Linked DNA regions of Homo sapiens: all the other regions are linked to region 5. Evidence: promoter capture Hi-C in human tissues and cell types (Jung and others, 2019). All regions are on one chromosome and are shown on one strand. The core of a region is centred on a gene start or on the middle of the fragment in contact, and the rest is flanking DNA. Distances in the headings are between cores, read along the strand shown.

What was found. The method cuts DNA at HindIII sites, captures the fragments that hold promoters and counts their contacts. A contact is called where the count stands out against the background at its distance.
Region 1: a fragment that was not itself captured here is called in contact with the fragment with the promoter of TMC6 in region 5 in 1 of the 25 tissues and cell types used here (liver).
Region 2: a contact is called between a fragment that was not itself captured here and the fragment with the promoter of TMC6 in region 5, in 2 of the 25 tissues and cell types used here (dorsolateral prefrontal cortex and lymphoblastoid cells).
Region 3: a fragment that was not itself captured here is called in contact with the fragment with the promoter of TMC6 in region 5 in 2 of the 25 tissues and cell types used here (aorta and hippocampus).
Region 4: a contact is called between a fragment that was not itself captured here and the fragment with the promoter of TMC6 in region 5, in 1 of the 25 tissues and cell types used here (lymphoblastoid cells).

The regions. Positions count from the first base shown.
Region 1 is chr17:77,876,100-77,878,883 of GRCh38, reverse strand. No RefSeq gene overlaps it. Among named protein-coding and RNA genes, the nearest start is that of LINC01973, 6.6 kb to the left of the region's middle. RefSeq lists a silencer at 2,615-2,784. The HindIII fragment of the contact is 3,702 bases long and covers 1-2,784 here.
Region 2 is chr17:78,271,594-78,274,428 of GRCh38, reverse strand. It overlaps LINC01993 (long intergenic non-protein coding RNA 1993), which reads left to right. Exons shown (of 7, transcript NR_073178.1): 2 at 2,462-2,835. Among named protein-coding and RNA genes, the nearest start is that of LINC01993, 5.5 kb to the left of the region's middle. RefSeq lists an enhancer at 1,508-2,197. The HindIII fragment of the contact is 5,166 bases long and covers 1-2,835 here.
Region 3 is chr17:77,962,468-77,965,167 of GRCh38, reverse strand. The region is part of intron 1 of TNRC6C (trinucleotide repeat containing adaptor 6C); the gene reads right to left. Among named protein-coding and RNA genes, the nearest start is that of TNRC6C, 5.1 kb to the right of the region's middle. The HindIII fragment of the contact is 3,556 bases long and covers 1-2,700 here.
Region 4 is chr17:78,287,750-78,290,449 of GRCh38, reverse strand. No RefSeq gene overlaps it. Among named protein-coding and RNA genes, the nearest start is that of LINC01993, 11 kb to the right of the region's middle. RefSeq lists an enhancer at 2,291-2,700. The HindIII fragment of the contact is 5,194 bases long and covers 1-2,700 here.
Region 5 is chr17:78,127,302-78,130,197 of GRCh38, reverse strand. TMC6 (transmembrane channel like 6) reads left to right here and starts at 1,443. Exons shown (of 20, transcript NM_001127198.5): 1 at 1,443-1,586. RefSeq lists a silencer at 1,350-1,879 and an enhancer at 2,560-2,809. The HindIII fragment of the contact is 22,186 bases long and covers 1-2,896 here.

The DNA.
Region 1 (2,784 bases), core at 58-2,557, 250 kb after region 5:
CCGAGGCTGCAGTGAGCTATGATCAGGCCACTACACTCCAGTCTGGGCAACAGAGCAAGACCCAGTCTCATACACATACACACACACACACGCAAGAAAGTTTCTGTTTAATCCAAAGGATGGAATGCTATCCAGCAGGGAAAAGGAAGGAGCTACTGGTACATGCAGCAATGTGGGTGAGCCTTGAAAGCATTGTGCGAAGTGAAGGAAGCCAGACACAGAGGCCTCTGTATATATGACATTCTGGAAAAGGCAGAGCTTTAGGGACAGAAAATCCATCAGTGGTTGCTTGGGGCCAAGATGGGGGGAGAAGATTGACTGCAGAGGGCCAGGAGGGACTTTTCTGCATCATAGAGACATTCTCTATCTCGATTGGGTGGTGGCTCCATGACTACATATACATGTTGAAATCCATCAAATGGTATACTTAAAATTAGTGAGTTTTATTGCATGTGAATTGTACTTCAACGAAATGGGTATATTAAAAATCTGCAGCTGTCTGCAATCCTTCTATGTCCTAGGCATGAGCTGGGAACATCTAAATATAGGATTTTCAATATTCAGGACAACCCAGTATTTTTTCAGAGAGATGAGCACAGGCTTTGCGAGGTCACACGGTGAATGCAGGCCACACAGCTTATATGCCAGCGTGGAGATAAAGGCTGAACTTTCTGCCAGGGGCCTGGAGGGGAGTGAGCACAATAAGACCTGACCGTGGTGGCCATGGAGCCTGGTGCCCCAGGGTTCTGTGTTCCCAGGGACCTGCTGTGTAAGGCCCGACCATCTGCCCACAGGAGCTCAGATCACCTTTCTCTCCAAACTGTTTGGGTATTTGAGTCCCTGGATTTTTCTAAATCAGAGTTTGGTTAGGCCTGGTCCCCCAGAAATGCCCTCAGAGCCCCAGGCAGGGACCCCAGCCACTTGCCCTGGAGGAAGCCCCTGGGCTTGCCTCCCTCCTTCCCCCACCTTCTCTTTCTCTCTGGATATCAGCATATTTGTCACACTTACTTCATTTCTCCTCCAGCTTGGTGACGCAAGGTGAGCTGAAGGAGAGCCGCTTGGGTGAGGATTATGAAGGCACGGGTGCCATGGAAACCACTCTGAAGGCCCCCTAAAGCTGCAGCTGTCAGGAGGGGCTGTCTGCTGCCATTGGTCGGCCACGTGGACCCTCTCCCTAACACGATGCGTGACTTTTATTTATTTTACTCTGTTTTGCATCTTATGCCTGCTCTCGGCTTCTCTTGGCTTCCTCACAGTCCTGGTGCAGGATGCTGCCTGCAGGTCAGTAGGATAAAGGTGCTAATGTTTTCTGTTTCTCTTTTTTGAACTTCTGACTTTTTAGGCTCATTTTCTGGTGCTCTCTCCTCCATGCCATAAGGCAGCACAGATTTCAAGCCATAGATGTTGGAGGCAGAAAATGGGATTATGTTAGACAGAGAGGGAAGCCAGCTCTTCTAGCAGGTGCTGTAGAAATGGCTTCTGATTTTGGTCACAGAAGCAGTCCCTAACTTTCCCTGCAAATCCAAGAAGCCCTCAAAGGGGCCAAAGGCAGGCTCTTTAGCACAATGTCAATCTGAGCAGAATGGAAGGGTTGCCAGAGGTTGCTAGTGAGATTCAAAGCCCTGTGGGTGCCTTGATCTTCCTAAGCTTGCTTTTAGAGAAGTGTGCTGTCGAAACTTCAGGAGGCCGCCAGCTTCTGGTTGGACCTCAACCTCCTCCTCCCTCAACCTCCTCCTCCCTTTGAGTAGGAATCAGAAGAATCTTTTACATTAGCCTTTGCCTTGATAGTTTTTATATCCTTCATTTTATTTCTTTCCAGCAATGGCCCTGAGAAATTGGCAGGCGAAGTGCCATTAACCCTGCATTGGAGAGGAGGAAATTGAGACCCAATTTTTTTTTTTTTTTTTTGAGACAGAGTCTCGCTTTGTCACCCAGGCTGGAGTGCAGTGGTGCGATCTCAGCTCGCTGAAATCTCCACCTTTCTGGTTCAAGTGATTCTCATGCCTCAACCTTCCGAGTAGCTGGGATTACAGGCGTGTGCCACCATGCCTGGCTAATTTTTGTATTTTTAGTAGAGACAGGGTTTCACCATGTTGACCAGGCTGGACTTGAACTCCTGACCTCAAGCGATCCACCTGCCTTAGCCTCCCAAAGTGCTGGGATTATAGTCGTGAGCCACTGTTTCCAACTGAGACCCAATAATTTAAGTAGAAGGGCTGGGACTGGGGCCTGAGGCTGCTGCTCCCTGCCTAAGGCTCTGAGACTGCTTGATCACAGGGTCAAGATCTTTGATGAAGCCGCTTTCTCAAGCTGTGGGTGGGCTTTTCCTGGTAGGAAATTTGCCTGAGACCTGGCAAAGATGGGACCTTTTAAATAGTGAAGGGAAATGAGCAATCCTTCCAAAGTCAAGTTCCTCAACGAAGCCCTTCTAAACACTGTCTCTCCTCCCTGCACACATGCCTATGTGCACACAATACACATGCTTGTTCATGCTTTATCCCTCTTGGTTAGGGGTCTATCCCCATCAAGCCATTAAAGTTGTTCTGGTGGAATCTCTGATGACACATTTTTTTTTTGGCTTGTGAAAACCAACCATTTTGTTATTTCATGAGTTTATGAGTTGACTGGGCTCAGCTGGGAGGTTCTTCTGGATGGGGCTTCAGTCATAAACAAACATGACTAAGTCAGAGTCCCCAAGATGTATCACTCACATCTGGCATTTGATGCTGACTCACTCTGGGCTGGCCACTCCACCAGGGCTGTTGACTGGAGAGGCTACACGTA
Region 2 (2,835 bases), core at 145-2,644, 140 kb before region 5:
GAACAAGACTCGGTCTCAAAAAAAAATTTTTTTTTTCATAATAAAAACTAAAAACAAATAAGGGGAGGATGGAATGATCAGTCCTGCTTCTTCACTCCCTTGTAGTAGAATTATGCATTCACATCCTTGACTTGGGGCATAGCTATGGGACTTGCTTTGATCAGTGGGATGTCAGGGGATATGGAGTGAGTAGACTTGAACTGTGCTTGCACAATGAACTTGCTCTCTTTCACTGCTGAAGTCACCCTGGAAGGAACACGCCTCAGGTAGCTTGCTGGGCCGAGGTTGATAAGAAACATGTGAAGCAAACCTGGACCCAACTCACAGCCCAGACGCCAGCCAGCTAATCCAAGCCTGGATCTGGTGAACCCCCACAGACCCACAGAGATGTGAGCAAAACAAATGCTTATTGTAGAATGCCACCAGGATTGCGGGGCTGCTTGTTACACAGCCTGATTATGGCACTCACTAACTGATATAGGGAGTTTCTCAGGAAACCCAAGAGAAGCCACTAGTCAGTATTGTGACTGACAGTGGCACTCTGGTTAACCTATGCAGAAAAGGAATTCAGTGGGGGTAACCGTTAGCATAGAATGGGCTGCATAGGGTATCGAGGCTGGATACTCACTGCATGCTGTGACACAGTGCTGTCTGGCTCTACCACAACCCTTGGGAACAATCCTAAATTACTCTTTTTTTATTTTTTATTTTTTTTTGAGACAGAGTCTTGCTGTGTCGCCCAGGCTGGAGTGCAGTGACCTGATCTTGGCTCACTGCAACCTCCACCTCCCAGGTTCAAGCGATTCTCCTGTCTCAGCCTCCCGAGTAGCTGGGATTATAGGTGTGCACCACCACACCTGACTAATTTTTGCATTTTTAGTAGACACAGGGTTTCACCATATTGGCCAGGCTTGTCTCAAACTCCTGGTCTCCAGTGATCCACCTGCCTCGGCCTCCCAAAATGCTGGGGTTACAGGCGCAAGCCACCACACCTGGCCCCTAAATTACTCTTGAACTTGGCATCTCATCTTCACGATTAAACATTCAGGTGGAAGCATTTAATGTAATCATTTTGGTCACATTCCCAGGAGTCAGTTTTCAGAGCCTGGGAAAGGGAGCAGGGACCCCCAGGACCCTACCTCCAACGTAGAAAGGGTATTTGGACACCAGGCAACCAAAAGGGCAAATGGCTACCACTGGCAGGAATGCAGGAGGGGCTGAAGACAGGTGTGAGCTCTCGGCAGGAGTTGGGGGGCCTGATCCTACCTCCTGCTGTTCCCCCATGTCCCCTCTGTTTTGAACTCAGAGCTTCGGACAAGAGCCCCCTCCTGCTGTCTGAAGGGCACCAGTGTGGCTGCCCGCTGCTCCCAGGTTCCACGTGCCTAGCTTCAGCCACCTGGAGGGAGACTGATTCCTCTTCCTCATTCCAGTTCTCATTTCTGGAGCCAAGTGAACGCCATTCGGAGAAATGTCCCTCGGCTTCCACTGTCTCCAGGCAAAGGGTAGGAAGGAGTGGTTCCCAGAGGCCGAGATGAGGACTCAGATGAAGCCACAGGTGTCTGCAGCTGTGTGGAGCTCTGGCAGATGCAGGCGGAGACTTGCCTCTGACATAGGGAGTTGTTGACGTCCCAGCTAAGTCAGCTGAGAACAGAAAGCCAGTGACGCAAACAACTCCAACCCACGGGACGGCTCGGGGGCTGGGGTGAGGCATGCAGAGTACACCTGACTGATCCCAGTGCAACTCACAGGGCGGCTGGAGGGTTATCCCAGCCCAACTCTAGGACAGCTGGAGGGCTGGGGAAAGGCATGCAGAGTATGCCAACCAATCCCAGCCCTGGACAGAGAGGCATGGAGAGGGCTATTGTGATACCCAACCTTGTTTTAACCTGAATTGACTCTCCCTTAGCTGAGAGAGCCAGACAGACTCCATCTTGGCTCCTTCACTTACAGCCCCTTACCCACCCCCTTCCTCAAGGACTTAACTTGTGCAAGCAGACTGCCAGCACATCCAAGGATGCAATTAACTGATAAGATACTGTGGCAAGTTATATCCGCAGTTCCTAGGAATTCGCCCGGTTGATAGCACCCAGAGTCCCCGCGTTTGTATCCGGTTGATAACACTCAAAGCCCCGCGTCTATCACCTTGTAATACATTTAAAGCCCCTGCACCTGGAACTGTTTGCTTTCCCGTAACCATTTATCCTTTTAACTTTTTTGTCTGCTTTGCTTCTGTAAGATTGTTTTAACTAGACTCCCCCCACCGCCCCTTTCTAAAACAAAGTATAAAAGAAAATCTAGCCCCTTCTTTGGGGTGGAGAGAATTTTGAGCACTAGCCTGAATTCGTCTCAGAGAGTGGCGTTTCTCTACAACTCGCTTGATCACAACTCTGTGAGGGAGGCAGATAGAGGAAGGAACACCCACGCCCCCAACTGCACTGTCCCCCACCCCCATGTTCTGCAGGTGCCTCCCACTGTGGGCTCCACAGAGGCAGAGGATGAGGGAGCCACTGATACCTCCCTGTAAGGCAGCCTCCCTGAGCGAGCAGGAGCAGGTCAGGGGTGAGTGTGGAATGATGACAGCCCAGGGCATCCTAGGCCCCCGGGGCAAGAGCAAGCTCCCTGTGCTTCCTGACCCCCGCCTCATTTGCAGATACATGTGCTCATGTCGGGAGATACCTGGAGTCATCTCAACTCCTGTCCCCCATTCCGCAGGTCCACAAGTCACCAGGTTCCATTCCCCTTCCCCTCCACATATCTCAGAGCTGTCACAGACTCTCCATGCCCCATTTCAGGGGTCTTGGCCCAGGCCTTGTCATGCCTTATCTGGACCAAGAG
Region 3 (2,700 bases), core at 43-2,542, 160 kb after region 5:
TTACTCCCTTTGCTCATCTGTAAAATGGGAATGTTAAAAGCAACCACTTCACAGGAGTGTTGTGAGGATTAAATAAGATAAACTCATGTCCTTGGCACATAATCACATTGTAAATGCTCAGATTAGTTTTAAATGGAGATCTGGTTACCTAAGGATGCTTTCTAACCTCGTCCACTCCCACTTCACAATTCCCAATTGTCCTCAGTGACTCAAATGTACTTGTTCCCACAAATCCATCACCTTCTTCCCTTACTGTGCCTCCCTACCAAAAAAGACCTTGTTTAAGACATCAGCCATAGCCCCCTGAAGAACAAAGCCTATTAAATTCCCTCCCTACACTCTGGGCCCCTCACTCTGCACTTCATATTTCATATGGAGTATGAGAAAAAATACTTGTGCATCTCCCTCCTCCCCACTGTAATTTCTGAATAACCGTTGTCCACATCATCTCAACAACAGTTGGAAAGGTGACACCTGTGCCCGCGTTGCCATTTCCCAGTTTCAGATCTTAGTTTAATTCCCAGTTGCTATTTTCACTGAGATTTTCCCTGCTTCCTAAAAGAGTAATTAAAAAGAAATGATCTTTGGGAATAAAAAAGTAAACAATATCTTTGCCAGGCTCAAACCAAGCACTTGATTTTAGCTGTGAGAGATCTTATTCTTAATAAGCTAGAAGGCACACATAAAATGAATCAAACAAAGCACATATTCCCAATAACCACCTGGGCACCAACTTGCATCTGGTATTAGCCACGTCAAAAGACAGTCTGCACATTAGTAAAGGACTCAACCACAGACAAGAGTTATCCAACTGCTGAGAATAATTCAACTTGACACTGTGATACTATAGGTTTGTAGTTCAATCCTTCAGAGAAGGAAGTTATAAAGATACAATAGAGTATTAATTTCTAAAATGGTCTGAAGAAGAAAAACAGAGAGGGTCTTCAGAGTAAACCATTTGGATTTATACAAATAGATGCCAGTCACACTCTTCTTCATTTTTGTGCAAAAAAATTAAAAATTTGTTATGCCAAAAAGGTTCATGAGAAAGTGGAAACTGGGCCAAATTAGACCAATCCATCCCACAAAATATCTGGAAGATTCCAGATGACTCTTTGGGCCATGTGCACTGTGTGTGGCCCAGTGATCATATGGGTCTTAGGGCAGTGGTTCTCCAACAGAAAAGAAGTATTGCAACAAAGAGGCAAATAAAGAGGAAGATGGTGGGACAGACAACTCTTATTTCCTAGACACCCCTTATTTCCTAGAGCAAACATTTAAATCCACTGGCTTACAAGAGGAATATACTTAAGAAGCTATATTATTGCTCATCCTTAATCACTACTATATTTTAGAAAACCAAAGTTCCAATGCATAGCTGGAACTCAGAGAGACACAGAGAATATTAAGAGTTCAAAATAACATTGAGTGTTCCTTTCCCAAGACCATTACTTCTGTTGTGGTTTGCAGCCACAGAGGGCTCAGGAGAGTGCGAACAACTATCTGTGCTACAGCAGTGATGTTTTATGGCTGGATGCCCAGATTGTCTAGCTCTGCACACAGCTCTATAGTCTTTTGAAGGCTACAGAGGAGGAATGCATTCTTAACAAACAGCTCTCCATTCCTGCAATAGCTTCTTCATTCTCTGAAAACATCTAAAGCTAAGAAAAGAATTCATTTTTAGTAAAACTCCAAAAATGGAACAAACGATATGGATTTTCAGCATGTTTTAAACATGTAAAACCTTGTTATATATATCCCAGGTGGAGATTTTTTAAAATTACATAATTTACTTTTCATTAAATAAATTAACATTTCAAATGCACGATCTGTACAATAGGAAACTGTACCATTATTTTAATCGGGTTATTCAAACAAGTTCACTGGCTAAGATTATACATTTCTCAGTTTCAATTTCAGATATACACTTTCTGCACAAGGTTATATAGTTATTTCTGACAAGTAACCTTTACATTTTTAAGTAATTATATTCCTAAAAAGTTATGTATAAGCTGAAAATTTATAAATGGACTCCACTGCATTAAAGTCTATTTAAAGAAAGCTTATTGTATATCATTTTATAAAGAATGCTCTCCTCGTGACCACACAATTATTTAAAAACTCATTTGTATAAATTTGGATAGCCATAGACTGAGTAAAAGCAAGAAAACCTGTACAATCTACCCCCTACAAAATAGGAGCCACTTCTCACCTGATATTTTGCTGTCCCTACTCAAATCTATGACATCTTCAAACAAAATATTAAGATGTTAACTATCTAAAGTAACTAAAATCCAGTCACCTTCACTGGGACCAGTTGTCATGCAAGAGAGACCAAAGACTGTGTCACCAACACTTCAAAATATTTCCTTACTTCTCACCTAAAATATTTGAAGACCCTCTGAGATAGAGCTGGAGAAAAGGTAAAAACCCATGTCTTAAAATTATGAGAAAGAAGCCAAAACAAGTTCAACGGAAGATAACAAAAACAAAACAAACATAAAGTTACCTGGTTCTTCCCAGCTTATATAGACCCTTTCACGCTCAGTCTGTTCAGGACTCCGCCTCCTGCTCCCTCAACCTATCCTTCTGCCAGCTCCAAGGACGTCTATAAATCTGTTCCTGTCTCCTCCTCTCCATTTCTTGTGCCTTCTCCACCAGCTTCAGTTGCTCTTGGTAATCTTTGCTTGCTCTATCCCC
Region 4 (2,700 bases), core at 19-2,518, 160 kb before region 5:
CAGGATGCGAAGAACAGTAGCAGGCACGGAAAAGGCCCCAAATAACATCTTCCATGGATGCCACTGTGGCCTCGCTCGCTGTTCTTCCTGCCGCTGCCGCCCAGCCTGCAGGTCTCTCCCACTTTGGGTAAATAACCCTTCCCCACCTTTGGCAAGCCGGGCCACCTGGCAGTACGTGCAGGGCTCAGGTCACTGCCCACACCCACCCGTGCATGCCCAGGTAGGACACACACACTCTCTCTCACACACACTTACACTCGCACTTACACACACAACACACACACTCATTCACACTTACACTCAACACACAAACACACTCGCACTCACACACAAAACACACACACACTCATTCACACACTCACACTCAACACACACACGCCACTCACACACACACAAAACACATACTCACACACACACATACACTCACACACACTGACACCCCTTAGCCTGGTGTCTTGAGCCAAGTACGAGGCTGCGAAGGTCTCCCTCTAGCGGCCCAGAAAGAGTAGATGCTCACTCAGGCCTGACTTAACTCACTGGAGGAAGCCGCGGGAACTCCTCTGCCCTGGGCTGCAGCCGGATCCTAAGAAGTTCCCGTCCTGGCTGGGGGGTTGGGCATGGTGGCTCACACCTGTAATCCCAGCACTTTGGGAGGCCGAGGCAGGCGGATCATCTGAGGTCGGGAGTTTGAGACCAGCCTGACCAACGTGGAGAAACCCCGTCTCTACTAAAAATACAAAATTAGCTGGGCTTGGTGGTGCACGCCTGTAATCCCAACTACTAGGGAGACTGAGGCAGAAGAATCGCTTGAACCCTGGAAGCAGAGGTTGCAGTAAGCCAAGATCGCACCACTGCACTCCAGCCTGGGCGACAAAAGCGAAACTCCATCTCAAAAAAAAAAAAAAAAAATAGAATCCCAGGTCCCGGCCATGCCTAGACACCCGCCTTCTGTCCCTTCATTCATCTGAGCAGCAGGAGCTGAACACTTGTCAGCAGCAGCCCAGCCCAGAGGCTAGAATCAGAGCCAGTCCCACGTCCAGGACCCGAGGAGGTCCCAAGGCTTTTGGGGGGCCAAACAGAGCTGGCTGAGGGGTGACGAGTAGGAGGTCTCACAGCCCTCAATGTCAGGCACAAGGGGAGAGGCAGGGTAGCCCAGGAAGAAGGACGTGCACAGGCAGGGGCTCCATGCCTTCATGCCTGGGGCTGGGGCAGGATCCGGCTGCAGAGGTGAGGCACACACAGTAGGACTGCAATAATGAATACACAGAGTAGGACTGCAGTAATGAGTGAAGGAATGAGCGCATGAACCGACAGCCTTGCAGGTTTGTTTTTGTTTTTGTTTTGTTTTGTTTTGAGACAGAGTCTTGTTCTGTTGCCCAGGCTGGAGTGCAGCAGCATGATCTCAGCTCACTGCAACCTCCGCCTCCCAGGTTCAAGTGATTCTCCTGTCCCAGCCTCCCGAGTAGCTGGGACTACAGGCACGCACCACCATGCCAGGCTAATTTTTGTATTTTTAGCAGAGACAGGGTTTCACCATGTTGGCCAGACTGGCCTTGAACTTCTGACCTCAAGTGATCGGCCCACCTCAACCTCCCAAAGTGCTAGGATTACAGGCATGAGCCACTGTGCCTGTCCAGCTTTGCCACTTTTGTATCACAAGCCCCTTGTACCTCTTAACAATAGATTCAGAGGTGGTTTGGTCTCAGCTGGAGAGAAGCCAGAGAACCTATACTTCTAAAAGTAGCTCAGATGGGCCGGGCGCAGTGGCTCACACCTGTAATCCCAGCTCTTTGGGAGGCCAAGTTGGGAGGATCGCTTGAGCCCAGAAGTTCAAGACCAGCCTGGGCAACATGGCAAGATCTGTCTCAGCAAAATATTTAAAAACTTAGCTGGGGCATGGTGGTACACGCCTGTGGTCCTAGCTACTTGGGAGGCTGAGGTGAAAGAATCACTTGAACCCTGGAGGTTGAGACTGCAGTGAGCCAAAATCCCACCACTGCACTCCAGCCTGGGCAACAGAGCGAGACCCTGTCTTAAAAAAAAAAAAATAAAAAAAGGAGCTTAGATAATTCTGAGACCAGGCAAGTCTGGAAACTTCCTGACTTCTTGTGGCATCCCTGGTTGCCTGGACACTGATTAACTCACAGCCCCAGGCCCCAGGACTCTGAGCTGGGAGGTCTGGGGTGGCCCTGGAAGCTGCCTATGCAACCAGTGTCCCAGGCATGGGGGTCCCAGTCACCCTCTGGGGTGCAGCAAACTAAGAAGCAGGAGCAGGGGACTCAAGGGGATCCCCAGGACGATGGCATTAGCGGGAACTGCCCCAGGCACTGGCAACCGCAGCCAATCCCGTGCTCTCTGGGCCTCTGGTCGCACTCAGAAGACATACCTTGTCCAGGGCCAACAGCGGTGTGAGGACCAGGACGGGGACCCTGTAGTTCCCACCAGTCATGTGTCCTGGACAGCCCACGTCACCTCTGACACTTGGTCACACAACGATGTGAAGATACTTACTGCCACTGAATTGAAACACTTAAAAATGGCTAAAGTTGGCTGGGCGCGGTGGCTTACGCCTGTAATCCCAGCACTTTGGGAGGCCGAGGCAGGTGGATCATGAGGTCAGGAGATTGAGACCATCCTGGCTGACATGGTGAAACCCCATCTCTACTAAAAATACAAAAAATTAGCCAGGCACGGTGGCGG
Region 5 (2,896 bases), core at 194-2,693:
GCCTAGCACCTGGCCGGTAGTAAGTGCTCAGGAATTGGCTCCATTCATGCTCTCCCAGGCTAGATGTTTAAGACATATCTTTGCCAATTCTCTGTCCTTGGGCCCCTGGGAAGCCCGCAGCCCTTCCTCTCTGCTCCCTCTCTACCTGCTATAGGGCCCAGTCATCTCAGGTCTGAATGTTCATAGCTTTTCTGCCTCTCTGCCCACCTCCTTCCTGGTTTCCAGAGTCCTTTCTGTGTGTCAGGCGCAAGCTATGTGCTGGTGCTGGGCACACAGTGGGCTGGGGTAGGAGGGGGCACAGAACCACAGATGTACATGTCAATAGGAAGTGGTAGGTGCTCCACCAGGGTTCAATCTGGGGAGGCTCCCCAGAGGAGGTGGCATTCATGCAAATTCAGTGTGGGTATGCAGGGAGGGGGAAGCAGTGGGAGGAGAGGCAGGGGCTGGGTCTCCATGCCAGGGTGCCACTTGCCAAGAACCAGCTTGGGGTAGCCATCTGAGGACCACACTGGCAGCTCCAAAAGGCCCCAGCCTTGACCCCTGCCTGGTCCTCGCTTTTGCTTGCCTGCTCTCCCCTGCAGCAGTGCCCTCTCCTGCCCTCCTGGGCCCCAGCTCACATTCACCCTGCCTGCTTCATGGCTTCTCCCCGCCAGGAATGACCCTCCCTTCCAAATGGGCTTGGGGTGGGGGGTACAATCTCAAAGGCAGTTTCCTCCATAGAGTTCCCAGGTGGACCACTAAGTCTCCTGCTTTGGCTGGGGGCACCCTAAAGGGTGATTAACTTCTCTCAGCCTCAGTTTCCTCATCTGTGAAATGGGAATATCAGTGCATACCTTCCTGGCTCATGGGGAATAACAGAAAACAGGGCAACGGGTACAGCACCTGGGGACAGTCACCTAAGTGTCAGCGTGTCCTCCTTTTCATCCCCTCCTCTCCACACAGCACACAGGAAGTGAGCCAGAACTCTTGCTAGATAAACAATGAACCCCGCCCAGGTGTCAGGAGTGGGAGATAACCAGGCTCCCCCCGCCGGGGTCGGGGAGAGTCAGCAGGAGGCTTGCGGGGGCGGCGGGGGGGGGGGCGCTGCCCAATCTGGAGTGAGATACTCTGTGTCCCTGGGGCTTTCGGCGGCATCTTACTTGGACGATCCCTAACCATGGGAAGCAGATGAGTCTGGAAATATTGCCCCTTTTTGGAACTTGGGGAAACTGAGCGTCAGAAAAATTGGGGACTTCAACCAGGGGCTGGAATGAATCCAGCCCAGCTCAGACCTCAGGAGGAGGGGTCGGAAGTTGGCAGGGGAGGAAGGCATAGTCGCCGCGGGGCGCCCGGAGGAGGGCGGGGGCGCCGCGGGCCGGGCCGGGTCACGTGATAGCCGAGGCCCGCCCCCCCCCCCCCCGCCCACGTGGGCCGGGAGGTGCGGCTACTCCCCCGGCCCCGGCAGACCTGCGACTGGCCCAGTCGCCCCTGGGGCCCTTTGCCACTCCCTTGGCAAGGAGAGCCGAGACCTCAGTTCCCGGCGGCTCTTGCGGGGCACAGGTGAGCCCTGGCTGCGCGCGCGGCCCCTCCTCCCCGGCGCCTCCCAGGTGAGCGGCCGCGATCCCGGTCCCGGGTCCCGCCAGCCCCAGCTGCTTCTCCTATGCGGGGACAGCGGCAATCCCCCCTGAATTCCTTTCGGCCTCTGGGGCCATTTGGCAGCCGAGTTCCCTCCCCGGGTGCTCCTGGAGCTCCCAGGGCTTGACCCTCCGGCTCGGACAGAGCTGGGAGCGGCAGGGGCGGGGAGGACAGTGCGGGGAGCAAAATCCGCAGCCCCCACCCAGGTCCCCCAGCCGAGCGCCAGGGCACGGGGAGGGGAGGGGAGGGGGTGTGGCCGGGATGGGAAGGGGCGGGGGACAGGGAGGCCGGCTGGACGGGTTCGGTGGCCCCAGAGTTGCAGCCGCTCTGGGCTCTGGGGCCAGGTTGCGGTTCTCCCTGGGTAGCGGCTGCTCCCGGGAAGCTCGCTGCCGGCTGGGGTGGGGGTTCCTGGAAACGGGCGCCACCCAGCCTCTCCCCACCTAGCTCAGGAATGGTGCGCCTGGAAACTCCGCTGGACTTGCCTGGGCCTCGGGGCGGAGTGCTGGGGCGCTGGGTGCCCGAGTCCCCGGGTTCCCTGAGCTTAGAAGGGCCTGTCTGGAGGAAGGGATTCCAGCTCTAGGGACTGGGTGGGGCGTCCTCAGCCCCTCTTTCGGCAGCTGTCCCGTGTTAGGCTGGGTGGGGCCGCCTCGGACCCAGCTCTGGGCTGGTTTTCCCACGTCTTTGCTCCTGCTGGAGGGAGGGGGTGGTGTGGGGCCTGGGCCCGAAGATGGCACCCAGGACACTGAGGGAGGGCGCCGTCCGGTCCTGTGACTGGCACCCCTGCAAGGAGCTGCTCTGTCGGGGCGCCCCCGGGCTTTGCCTGTCCGAGGAAAGCGCCCTTCAACCCGGCCGACTTTGAGCCCTGAGTTCCTGAGGGTGAGCGCAGGAGGAGTCCAGGGCAGAGGCCGGCAGGACTCGCTGGTGGCTGGGAGCTGAGTCCTGGCTCCACTCTCACAGATGAACGGGCCCCGAGCCCAGGGCCCCAGACAAGGCTGCTCTGGTTCCAGTTGTGCCGGGTGACGGCAGAGCCAGGACAAAGGAGGCCTGTTGAGGTCCTGGCCACCCCCAGCCGGCCGCCCTGGGATGATGGAATGCAGGGCAGTGGGTCTTCTGAGAACATGAGGACCTTGGCGCCCTGACGGCGGTGGCATGGAGTGACCTCTGTGTGTGGGGGAGGAGCCCCCTGTGCTGCTTCCGCCTGGGGCTGGTTGGGGGTGAGGGCTCCAGCAGCTAATTTCCTGCTAGAGGAAGTTCTTTGAGGTCACAGGGCAGACGCAGAGAA